Linked DNA regions of Homo sapiens: region 2 is linked to region 1. Evidence: promoter capture Hi-C in 16 types of primary human blood cells and fetal thymus (Javierre and others, 2016). All regions are on one chromosome and are shown on one strand. Each heading gives the region's core, a stretch centred on a gene start or on the middle of the fragment in contact. The rest is flanking DNA. Distances are from core to core; before and after follow the strand shown. Region 1 holds the start of CHD7 (chromodomain helicase DNA binding protein 7). Region 2 overlaps CHD7 (chromodomain helicase DNA binding protein 7).

Region 1 (6,374 bases), core at 1,452-3,951:
TCAATGCCCTCCTTCCCAGGTCCTTAGTACCTTTCCACTGTCCTCTGGCTACACGGAACTCAGGTCTGTCCTATTCCTCCAGGGCTCAGACTCCAAAATTAACATTCTCCCTTATCACCAGATCAAAACTACCAATCCACTAGATTGTAAACTCCATGAGGGCAGGACGTTTTGTCTGTTTTGTTCACTACTATATCTCCAGTACCTAGAACCAATCCTGGAAACTCTTAGGCACTCGAAGTTGAATGAATGGCTAAGTCTCTAAATTTGTTACTCTGGCTAGCTGTTGGGAGGAAAGCAACCCATTGAACCAATTTACACTCATCTGTGAAAGACCAGTAGCCCCTTATCTCACCCTAAGGTATTTGCATACTTAAAGAGAAAGCTTGTGAATTCAAATTACTCTCATTGGGAAAACTTCAATAGTGAAGCAAATGGAGAAAAAACATTTCAGGCTAAAGGGGAGTGTTGGGGGATGGTGGTGGTGTGGTGAGAGCTATGACTCAGGTAGGCCAGATCTGCCTAGGAGTTTGCCCCTGAGGGCCTCTACTTTTTAAGGCCCCTTACGTTCCACACCACCACAACATCTAAAAGCTTAGAGACTTCTTCATGATGGCTCAGGGCAGTGATCAGGATAAGGAGACTATAAGTCAGAGGACTTATATTCTGTAGGACTGTTTTTACATTGGGTACTGGTATATATCAAAAGGAAGTTTCCTAGCTTTCGAGTTAAATGTACAAGAGCACAGGGAATCTCCTCATAGTCATATTTGTTGATAACAAGTTAATTGCAATATTGTAATTTCACTATATGTAGATGTCATTTTTTTTCTCCTGTGAATTGCCTTGAAATAGATGCACATCTGATATCGAGCTGTGGCACACTGTAAAAGATAAGACATAATTTTTTATGGCACATTATTTTAAAAATGTGTTCTAATATAGTCAGGTACTAGCGATTTTTTTTCTAGACATTGTGTCCTGTTTTTGACCCCCCCGCCCCACACACCCCTAAAGCACCTTTCATATACTTTCATTGGGAAATATAAACTTAATGGAAACAGTAGCCTAACCTCAGAGTTGTGATTCTTGGTTTGTGATACCGGGTTTAAAACAGATGGAAGTTGATTTTAGTGGTTTCAACTTTTTAAATGCCAGAATTCTTTCTGTACTGTCTTCTATGTTCTTTTTGATGATCTGTAAGCTCCTTAAACATTAAAACATTTATTTCTTTTAGAACAAAACTCAAATACATGATGAAAGCAAGCTAAAAGCAGTGCATTTAACAAACCACAATATAATGTGATATATTTATAGAATTATTACTAAAATCAGAAAATCAATGTCTTAGTGATTAAGTCTAGGATAATCAAACTTATTGAATAGTTGCAGTAGTTACTTAATGAGATAGTTTTGATTAATCTTTTGTCCAAATAACAATATTGTGATTACAGGCTTAGCACTACAGGTAGTGTAACCATCAGTGAGTGAGATTAGTACATTTTACATAGTTTTGCTATTTTCTCAGTTTATTTTGGAGTCCAGTAATAACCAGTCAGTCTGTACCTGCCATAGGGCAATCTTTGGTTGATATGAGTTCCTTTCCTGATTTTAAAATAAGTGCAATCTTTAACCTAATAAAATTATCTTAAAGTTTACAATTGATGGTTTAAACACATTATAATTGCTCCGTATTTTGCAGATAGAAGAGGCTTAATCCATGTTTGTAGATCTATTTCCTAAAATAAAAATTAGTAAAAAAAAGTTTTTTTTCTTCAGGTTTAACATTCATTTTGTACCGGGAAGAGAAATGGAATAAGAGGCTCGGATTTTTAAGACTATGCAATCAGATACAAGTGCCATTTTGGCCAAAGAATGAGTAAAACATTCTAGTCCCGACACGTTTAATAATGGGCATACATCCTATTTCTTTGTTTCATAATCATTGAGCTCTCTGCCTTCTCTCTCTTTTTTGGTATGGTAACAAATTCGACAAAATCAATGCCATCTAGTTAAACTTTTTGATTAAGTAGTGGATCCGGTGTCCTATCCACGAAGAGGTGGGAAAAGCGATGTGGAGAAGCAGGCACGAACCCATCTGGAATGGAACATGTCCCTTCCGAATAATTTCATGTGGGAAAATAATTTCAAGTTGAAGGATAATTACTGCAGAGACTGCCAGTCACCCCCGGCCGCCGCCGGCCGCGCAGCGTCGGAAACCCTTCGCGGCAGCCAGGAGGGTCGCAGCCCTCCCGGAGCCCCGCTTCCTGCCCCGGGGCGGCGCACCCGGCTCCGGGAAGGTGCCGCGCGGGAGACGTGGCAGCAGCCCCTCCAGTCCGCGCCCGGGCGCAGCGGCCGAGCGCTCCGTGCAGCCGGGCAAGGAAGACTCCGCGGCAGCAGCGCACCGGCCGGCGGGGAGACCCGCCTGAAGCGCCGGCGCCCGCCAGGGGACGGGAAGTGGCGCCCGGCCCGCCCTTGCGGCCCGCGGCCCGCGGCCCAGCAGCTCCGCGCCGCCCCTTTTCTCTCGGCCTCTCCCTCGGCCTCCGCCACCCCGGCCGAATTCTTGCATAAATTATGCCAGGCGCGCCTGACGTCAGGTGGCGGCGCGCGGGCGCGGGCGCGGGCGCGGCGCGGCCCGGAGGGAGCTGGCGGCGGGCGCGCGCGGCCCCGCGGCTTCGGGTGCGCGCGGCGTGCCGGACGCGCGCAGGCGCTGGCGTGCTGGGGCCGCGGCGGCGGCGGCGGCGGCGGCGGCAGCGGCGGCGGCGGCGGCGGCGCGGGGGTTGAGTCGTGGTGGTGCGGACGCGCTCGTGCTCGGGAACTATCGGATTAAACTTGAATCGAGTGAAATTACACAAAGGAGCGCCGCGGAGGAGGCGGCCCGGGGACCCGGACACCCTGAAACTCACCAGAGACCCGTTCGCCCCCGGCCAACTCCGTGCCCGTGGATTCAGCCCCCTGGCCGCAGCTGCCGAGCCAACTCCGGAGCCCGCTCTGCGTTTTGTTTTCCCCTCGGCACTAGGCAGCGGAGGAGCCCGACCGACCCGGTGAGCGCGAGAGTTCGCCCGGCGCCCCCGGGAGGGGCGGCGGCGGCGGCGGCGGCAGGAAATCGCTCCGGGCCGGGGCCGGGGCCGCGCTAGGAGTTGGGAGCGAGGAGTTGGGCGTGTGCGGGGCGAGGGGCGAGGGGCGAGGGCGGGAGGGGGCCGGGGCCAGCGCAGGAGCGCAGCGCCGCCCGCGTAGTGTCGCCGGCGTCGCCGCCCGCGGGGCCCGAACCCGCGCCCCGAGCGCCGCCCGGCGCCCCAACTTTTGCCTGCGTCCGCCGGGCCGGCGGCGGCGGGGGCGCGCGGTGCGGCCGAGGGTCACTTCCTCGCATGTAAATGGCTTTTTGTTGTGCTGCCGGCGTGGGGGGGGGGTACGGGGGACAGGAGGGAGCGTGTCTGCGCGCGGGGGAGCGCGAGCGCGTTTCCTCCCGCCGGCGCCGAGCACGAGTTGCCGGCTCCATTCGAGAGAAAAAGGAAGGAGGAAAAGTTGGGCTCCAACTCAAGTGCGAGCGGGCGATGGGCGCGCGGGCGCGGGGCGGCTGAGCAGCGGCGGCGGCGGCTCGGGGACGGCGGCGACCCCCGCCTCCCGCCCCCGCCCCCCGCTCCGGACCGACCACGCCGCGCTCGCCGGGAGCTGCGGCCGCACCGGCGCGAACAAAGTGCGTTCCTCCCGGCGCGGCGGCGCCAGCCCGCGCGGGGACCGCCACCGAGCGAGGTGGGTCGGCGGCGGGGAAAGTGCGCGGGGCGCCGCGTGGGGCGGGGGCAGCGCGAACACGCGGCGCGGGAGGCGTCCCGAGCTCAGCCAGTGCCGGTCGCGGGCGCGGAGTTGCGAGCCCGGAGTTGGGGGCTCCTGGGGCTCCCCGGCGGCTCCCAAGTGCGCTAGGAGGAGAAGAAAGGGAGCGGGGCCGGGGCGAGCGCCGGGAGGCGCGGCGAGGAGGGGACCCCACCTTGTCGAGCTGGCCGGGCCGCCGGCGGCGGCAGCTGCATAATAGCGACTTTAACCTTCCAACGCAACTCGGCTCCCCCGCCCCCCAACCCGCCGGGGGTCAGCGCCGGTGGGGGGTGGTCACCAGGTGGCCCCCGAGGTGACCCGGGTGCGCTCTGCCCTCGCAGAGAGCCGCGGCTTGGAGCGTGAACGGCCGAGGTGGCTGGAGGCCAAGCGGTCAGCGGGGAGAGGAAAGGAGGGCGGTGGGGGACGCGTTGTTTGTTTGGTTCGCACCGGGGATTGGGCTCGCTGGGGGCGCGGGGCTCGGGCGGGGGCGCGGGCACCGGCTGGGCTGCGGTGCGGGGCGGGCGCGGCGGCGCGGGGCTGTCGAGGTCGCGGGGGGGGGGGGCGGGGGCGGCGGCGGCGGCGGCTCCCGGGCGGGGGTGGGGGCGCTGGTCGGGAGGCTCTGGGGAAGGAGCCGCCGGCCCCGAGCAGCCATCATTACCGAGCCGCCTTTCTCCGGATGGCTCTGCCTCGAGGAGCCCGGAGCCGTGGGAGCGCACCCCAAACTCCCGGCCGGCCGCCCGCTTTGTGAGCGCCCCCGTGAAGCGAGCGGCGCGGAGAGTGCTCCTGCTATGGGTCGGACTCTTTTCCTGGAGGTCACTTTTAGAGACTGCTCACGCCTTGGTTTAAACTAGTTTTTTTCCCCCTCTTCTGAACAGACAATGGACAAAAGAAAAGTAGCAACCCACATGGAGAGAGTTTCCTTTTGAATTGCTAGAATTAGATACACTATCCAGCGCTCCACTTGCTAAGTATACTTTTTAGTTTCCCATTGTATATTATCTAGCAATCGATTTAAATAACTTATCTTAAAAAGTGTCCCTTTTGGGGGCTTAATTTCTGGAATACATTACATGTCTTAATTTATTTTTAAAGGATTTTGTGAGGCCCTGATTTTTTATTTTCTAAAAATTTTAATTTAAGCCGTCTTTGCAGTGGGCGATACCTTTCTAAGGGGTTAAGTGTTATTTCACCCCAGTTCTCTCTCGGTAAGGGAGGGAGTACTCAGTATACGTAGTAATCGAAGAGGAAACAAAATACGTGTCTTTATTTCTTCACTGATCTTGTCTGACGATGACAAAAAATATCTTAGTGACTGTGACCTTAGCAGCATGGCTACCTGATTTATCCCAGTTATAATTATATTTAGATTGCAGTAATGTCTAAGTACAAGGTAATTCCTATTTCAGAAATAACTTGAGCAGTGATTTTACGAAGTTGAATCCTTCTCCCAGCCCCCAGAGTACATCTGTCGCGCAGTGTTTTTGTCTTGCTGTTGCACAACAGAAGCCCTCCAGTCTTTACCCTAAAATGGCAGCTTTCATTTGACTGAGGCCCATTCATTGACAATGATAATAAAGAGGCTGAAAGCTAGATGCTTGGGGCATGGAGTAGGACTTGGTTTGCCTTTCTAGGTGATAAGTAGGAGACATTTTATGTCTTCCAGTTTGCTCAGGAAAAGTTTATTTTCCCTGAAAAATCTGTCTTGTAGAAAAAAGTTATAGTAAAATAATTTGGAAATGGGTAAAGGCTTGAGCAGCAAATTTTAGAAGCTAAATTTTCTTATTTTGCCCAATAGTGGAAATATGGCATTCTCTTTTTTGGTAATCTGCTGATAAAAGGACATAATGGATTTTTGTCAGGCTTGTAACAGGTGAATTTCCTCATGCTGGTACTCAAGAATTGGGATTGTTTTCTAGCACTGTGGGTTTTTTTCTCTTTATATTTTCTAATTTTTTCTCCTGTTCGAGTCACTAAATTGAACCATGATGAATTGTATCCTGGGTCTATGCTTTCGCGATTGAAATGAGTTTTCAGATAAGAAATGAATTATAATTTTAAAAGACTGGTATATGAATTTTAAATTATTATATTCATTTAATCAATGGCCTTATTTTTAAATTAGTTTTTTTAAAAAGTTACTTTCTTTTATATGTCTTAACATGGAAGGCACAATACAGGAATGGTAGAGTGGTTGTACCGGTGATGTTTAAAAACCCAAATATTATTTTCCTCTTTCAAGGAAAGAAATAACTTTTTTTCCCAAGTTGAAAATATGGAAGTCAAATTTATAACAACGTATTCAGTAACTTAGTTTTAAAATAGTACTTTTATAGATTCACCAGTATTTGGTCTAGTTTTTAATCAGTTCAACTTACAGGAACATTTCCTAAACTTTTTTCATAATGAGCCTTCTTTCTAGGTTAGCCTTACTTTTATTGAGTTAAAATGAATACCATGAAGAGTACCTTTATAATACAGTAACATCAAGGAAATGTTACAACCGTTTTTCATACAGATGCGAAGTCAATAATATGTTATAGTTTTTAAGCAGTTAGGTCAAAATA
Region 2 (6,374 bases), core at 1,157-3,656, 39 kb after region 1:
ATTAATAAGGCTAGATGAACCATCGCTGGCTTTCCAGTTGTATGTATCCCTCATAGAATCAGACACCAACTCAGGGAGGGGCCTTTCCAGCACACAGAGGGCTCTGCCTTTTTTTTTTTTTTTTTTTGGGAGTCTTGCTTTGTCGCCCAGGCTGGAGTGCAGTGGCCGATCTCACCTCACTGCAAACTCCGCCTGCTGGGTTCAAGGAATTCTGCATCAGCCTCCGGAGTAGCTGGGATTACAGGCACCTGCCACCACGCCCAGCTAATTTTTGTGTTTTAGTAGAGACAGATTTTCACCATGTTGGCCAGGCTGGTCTCAAACTCCTGATCTCAGGGGATCCGCCTGCCTTGGCCTCCTAAAATGCTGGGATTACAGGCGTGAGCCACCGCGCCCAGCCCCTTCCTCTTTTTGGCTTCCACTTGGCCAAAGGAGCTTCCCTTTGGGGCCGCGTCTGAGTCATGTTAGCCGCTGGTTCAAGGGAGCCATCTGAAACTCCTTGGAGCAGGGTTTCTCCTGTATATGGCAATACTCTACCTTAGAAAAACAAAACAAAACAAAACAAAACGTCAAGTTACATGGTATAATGGAAAAAAACCCTAAACTTGGGCTAGAAAATATAGGCCACTATTTTGTTTCTAATACCACTATGTATATGGACAGAACAGTTAACTGTCCACGCCCTGTGTCTTCCTTCGTGAAAGGTGGTGACACTGTACCTTCACAGCCTACTTCATAGGACTTTGGTGTAAAATGAGACAGCAGATGTTAAAGTACCTTCCGAGACCATTGTTTCCAGAACCTTCATCACATTGTGGTATTAGAAACCTTGGAGTCCTCCTTGACTCTTTCACAAGCTACATTGAATTTGTTCTCAAAGCCTCTGGCTCTGCCTTTAAAGTATATGCAGAGTCTGATACCTTTTCTCTCCACTTCTACCACCCGGGTCCAAGTGGCCTTTTTTCCTTGCCGGTGTTACTGCAGTAGCTCCCCTACTGCTCTCCCTGCTGTTGCCTGTGTTGCCTGCAGTCTTTCCAATGTTAGCAGTCAAAGTCATCTCTCAGAGCCAGAGCTGGATCATGTCCCTCCTCTGCTGAAAGCAGTTCGTGATTCATCCTCTTGAGGCAAAACCTCAGCCCTCACAGAAGTACCCTCTGCTCCAGCCTCCCCCATCCAGAATCTCATGGGACACCACACTTTGTCCTTGCTGTCCTTTAGATGCTCAGGTGCCAGTTCCCCTCTCAGTCTTCCACAGTTGCTCTGATCTCCTCAGACACTGTCAGGGCCTCGTAGGGCCTGCTGGGCTGACTCCTCAGTTCCTTCCCGATCATACATAACTATCTTCCCTGTGAGGCAGTCCCTTACCACCCAATTTAAAATTGCACCTCCTTCCTCCAACCGGTCCCTCTGCTGTGATTTGGTTTTTCTCTCTTACTTTCCTTTTAGTTATTTACTTATTTATTTTGTTTGACTCTCTCCACAAACAAAGCTTAATTAAGCTGCATGAAGGAATCGTTGTCCATAATGTTTACTGATGCATCTCCAGTGCCTAGGACAGTGTTTGACAGATGATAGGTGCACAATACATATTTGTTGCTTAAAATTATATGGGAGCTAATCATTGGAGGGAAAAATGTCTTCGGTTCTCTGTAGCACACTTTTTGGCATAGTATAGCCGATGAAACTTTGTAAGCAAGATAGCAAATATTGTTACACTATAGTGGCTTTCAGAAATTGAAGACAGTGTTTCTCTTTGAGACAGTCCTGATTAGCAAATTACACATTTTTCCCCTCTTGTTACATCTACCTTAAGCCTTTTTTTTTTTTTTTTTCCTGGAGTAATGCATGAATGGTGGTATGTCTTCCCTCAGGTCATTGCATCTGGGTACGTAATGTTCATTTGTCCCGTTTACTGGTGATACGTACTTTGATCACTTGGTAAAGGTGAGTTATTCCATTTGAAAAGAAAATTATTAGAATAACATTAGTTTACTGTCAAGTTGGAATTATAGTGATTTGCTTCCTTGTAAATGAAAGATAGTGTATCATTGTGGTGTTTTCCATTTAGTTATACTTGTTGGCTGCAGAGTAAACACTTTGGTTATTAGACTTAGCAATAACTTTGTGTAGAACTTTTCTGAGGGCACAAAGTTATTTCACATTTTTCATTTCAGAGTATTTCTAGCACTATGTATTTTGTTTATCTAGAGAGAAAGTAACTGTGTTCTTGATATAGGTCAGGCCTTGCAGTGGCACAGTATGTGACCCTAGTTTCTTTACTGTTACTTTCCTTTTGGTCATGCTACAACTCAGGTGGTTATGTAGTTAAACCTTATGGGTGTAGGGGAAGGGCAGGTGGCATGAGCTGAAAAGTGTAAGGTAACTACCCCTGAAAGTTGATTGATTGAAGGTTCATTATACAGTCATGTGCCATATAATGATGTTTTGGTCAGCGATGGGCCACATATACAACAGTGGTCTCATGAGATTATAATGGAGCTGAAAAATTCCATTGTCCACTGACAATTGTAGTCATCATAATGTAGAGCAACACATTACCCATGGGTTTGTGGTGATGGTGGTATAAACAAACCTACTGTATTGCTGGTCTTATAAAAGTACACCATGTAAAATTATGCACAATACATAATATTTGATAATGACAGTAAACTGTGTTACTGGTTCTTGTATTTGCTATACTATACTTTTTATTGTTATTTTGGAGTATACCCCTTCTACCATTTTTTTTTAAATTTAACTGTAAAACATCTTCAGGCAGGTCCTTCAGGGGATATTCCAGAAGGCATTGTTATCATAGGAGATGACAGTTCCATGCCTGTGATGGCCTCCGAAGACCTTCCAGTCTTCAGAGTGGCACAGAATGTGGAGATGGAAGACAGTGATATTGATGATCCCAACCTGTGTAGGTCTAGGCTAATGTGTATGTCTGTCTTAGTTTTTAACAAGAAAGTTTGAAGTTGGTCGCGGTAGCTCACACCTGTAATCCCAGCACTTTGGGAGGCTAAGGTGGGTGGATCACCTGAGGTCAGGAGTTGGAGACCAGCCTGGCCAACATGGCAAAACCCCATCTCTACTAAAAAATACAAAAATTAGCTGGGTGTGGTGGCAGGCGCTAATCTCAGATACTCGGGAGGCTGAGGCAGGAGAATCTCTTGAACCCGGTAGGTGGAGGTTGCAGTGAGCCAAGATTGTGCCATTGCACTCCAGCATGGGAGACAGAGTGAGACTCCATCTCAAAAGAAAAAAAAAAAGAAAGTTTGAAAAGTAAAAAACTAAACTAAATTAAACATTTAAAAATATGAAAAAGCTTTTGGAATAAAGATATAAAGAAAGAAAATACTTTTGTATGGCTGTACAATGTGTTCGTCTTTTAAGTTGTAAAAGTCAAAAGGTTAAAGTCTATAAAATAAAAAAGTTACAGTAAACAGATAAATTTATTGAAGAAAGAAAAATTAATTTTCATAAATTCATTATAGCCTAGGTGTACAATGTTTATAAAGTCTACAGCAGTGTGCAGTAACATCCTAGGCCTTCATATTCATTCACCACTCACTCACTCACTCACTCACCCAGAGCAACTTCTAGTTTACAAGCTCCATTCATGGTAAGTGCCCTATGCAAGTGTATCATTTTTAATCTTTTATATTGTATTTTTGCTGTACCTTTTCTATGCTTAGATACCATTGTGTTGCAGTTGCCTACAGTATTCTGTAACATGCTGCACAGGTTTGCAGCCTAGGAGCAATAGGCTGTATCATGTTGCCTAGGTGTGTAGGAGGCTGTACCATCTTGGTTTGTGTAAGTGCACTCTGTGATGTTTGCACAAAGATAAAATCACTTAGCGACACATTTCTCAGACTGTGTCCTCATCATTAGGTGACACATGACTATGTTTACAGGTAGCCTCTTGCCTTCTAAACTGACACTTGAGTGATGCATGACACTATTTGGATATGGGAAAGGATTTGTCACCCACAGGGTAGGAAACTTTGGAGATTGGCAGACTTCCTTTTTTGATTCAAGTAAGTCTAAATTATGATTTCAGATGAGTAGGCTGAAAATATTTTGTAAAGTTCCAGAGCAGGAATATGAAAAATTTGGACACTTTTCATTTTGAAGTTCCACAATTGTTAGATTTAGATAGATAGATTGATTTTATGTCTTTAAAATATTTGAAACGTGTGGGGGCTCAAAGGTTTATAAACTTTTTTTTCAGAATTTTCTTGAAATGGATATCAGTCTCAGACTGACACATTCTTACATTATTATTATTGATTAAATATGTTAGGGGCTAGTTTGTCTTGCCATGAATTATTAATTGGTCAAACCTTTGTACTGGGCACTCTGGGAGCCCTGGGGTAATAAATAAAGCCCTGGGGTAATAAAAGTGTACAAAGCACATTCTGCACCTGCCCTCAGGGAGCTCCAGCACTGGGGGACCCTCCTCATTCGGCAGGCAGTGAAGCTCAGCTCCAGTGAGCGCTGTGAAGGAGCAGAGAGTCCATTGTGAGATGAGAAAATCCGGCAACCAACTTCTCATCCCCACAGGTCTTCCTGCTTACCTGAAAGGAAACTGAGGCCTTGTGAGGGTTATCAGCTAGCAGAACTTGGATGGACACCAGATCTGTTTGACAAAGGCAAAAAAATCATAATAAATTATTTTTCTAACATCTGGCTGATTGTAAGTATGCTTATTCCAAAATATTCAAGCCATAAAACATGCATGAAGTAGGAAGTGAAAGCCCCCACCCCTGATAAATTCAGGTACATTAATTAATCTTCTAGGTTTTTAATGGGAGAAAGGTTGCAGAGTGTGAGCATATTATAGATACACAACTCCTTTTTTCCTGAAATACTGTGGCTCATCTTTTCATACCAACACACAGAGCTCTGATTTTTTTCAGCGAGGTCAAATGACTGTGTCCTGTTCCATATAACTTCACTTATCTGTCCTCTTTCAATGGCCGGTTGGGTCATTTCAGTGTTTCACTATTGAAAATGGCACGGCTGTAAAGATCATCAGCCTTTTATGTACCTCTCTTTGCACATTGGGATAAATTCCTAGACAGGGGTATTACAGGGTCACAGACTATGTTCATTTTAAATATGGTAAATGTTCCTGGATTGGCCCCAGAAAGGCTGTATCAGTTCACATTCCTTTCAGTGGTGTATGAGTTACTTTTTTTTGTGCACTCACCAACTGTGGACCTTACTGTCTTTTGCCAATTTGATAGGTGCCTTTCTTTTATTACCAGTGAAGTCAAGTATCATTCCATGTGTGTTTTTGGCCTTCTTCGTTTCCTTAAAGCCTGTCCTCTGCACCATTGTGCTGTTGAGCCTCCAGCTTCTGTGATCGCCTTCTGTGACTGAATATCATCTCCGTGAGCCTGTGCACCCTTCTCCGTTCTGGTAGAGAGAGAGTAAAGGCTAAGACGGCTGTCTCTGAAAGCAGTCTCAGGGATTATTCCCATTGCTGCCGCTTACCAGCAGTGGCTCCTTGGCAGGCTACTTAACCTTTGAGCCTTCAGTTTCCTTTCCTCTAATGGGGGTAACAAGGATTAAATGAACGAGTGCATCTGAAGCCTTAGCACAGGGCCTGGCATGTGAGTAAATGTCCAGGAAATGCTTGCCACCATCAGCAGCAGCACCTGTGTGGGAAATTACTTTCCCTTCTCCCTTTTCTATGGGAGTCCCTTAGAGCCCTGCTCAGCAGCCTGGATCCTCATCAGTTCTGGGATTCCGTTGGCGGCTGCTGCTTTTCCAAGTGGACACTTTTCTCTTTGTCATTCCATGTCAAGGGCTGTGAAGTGAGGTCCCGGACCAGCAACATCAACTTAGGCATGGAGCCTGGGCATTTTCCTTCTGGTTGGTCTTATGGATTGAATTGTGTCACTCTCTCCCACCCAAACTCATATGTTGAAGCCCCTAATCCCCAAGGCAATTGTATTTGGAGATAGGGCCTTTAGGGAGGTAATTAAGATTACATGAGGTTATAAAGTGGTCATAAGGTAGGATCCTGATCTGACAGGACTAGTGGTCTTAATACGAAGAGGAAAAGAGAGAGCTGGCTCTCCCAGTTGACAAAAAAGAGGCCATGTGTGCACACAGTGAGATGGTGGCTGCCTATAAGCCAAGAGAAGAGGCCTCAGAATGAATCCTGCCTTGCCAGCACCTTCGTCTTGGACTTCCAGTCTCCAGAACTGTGAAAAATAAGTTTCCGTTTAAGCCACCCAGGCTGTAGAGTTTGTTATGGAACTCTGGCAGACTGAGATTGTTGGAGAACCACAGTCCTGGTGGTTGAGTGCCTGCCTCAGGCATTATTGTTTTTAGGCCAGTGGTTTGTGCATCAAAAT

Evidence for each region. Contacts are between HindIII fragments. The CHiCAGO score rates a contact against its expected background, and 5 or more counts as called.
Region 2: a fragment that was not itself captured here is called in contact with the fragment with the promoter of CHD7 in region 1 in 3 of 17 cell types (activated CD4 T cells, naive CD4 T cells and naive CD8 T cells); the score reaches 5.9 in activated CD4 T cells.

Annotation. Positions count from the first base shown.
Region 1 is chr8:60,676,039-60,682,412 of GRCh38, forward strand. CHD7 (chromodomain helicase DNA binding protein 7) reads left to right here and starts at 2,702. Exons shown (of 38, transcript NM_017780.4): 1 at 2,702-3,044. RefSeq lists silencers at 2,250-2,689, 3,050-3,149, 3,810-4,179. The HindIII fragment of the contact is 9,178 bases long and covers 593-6,374 here.
Region 2 is chr8:60,715,219-60,721,592 of GRCh38, forward strand. All of the region lies in intron 1 of CHD7 (chromodomain helicase DNA binding protein 7), which reads left to right. Among named protein-coding and RNA genes, the nearest start is that of CHD7, 40 kb to the left of the region's middle. The HindIII fragment of the contact is 1,839 bases long and covers 1,488-3,326 here.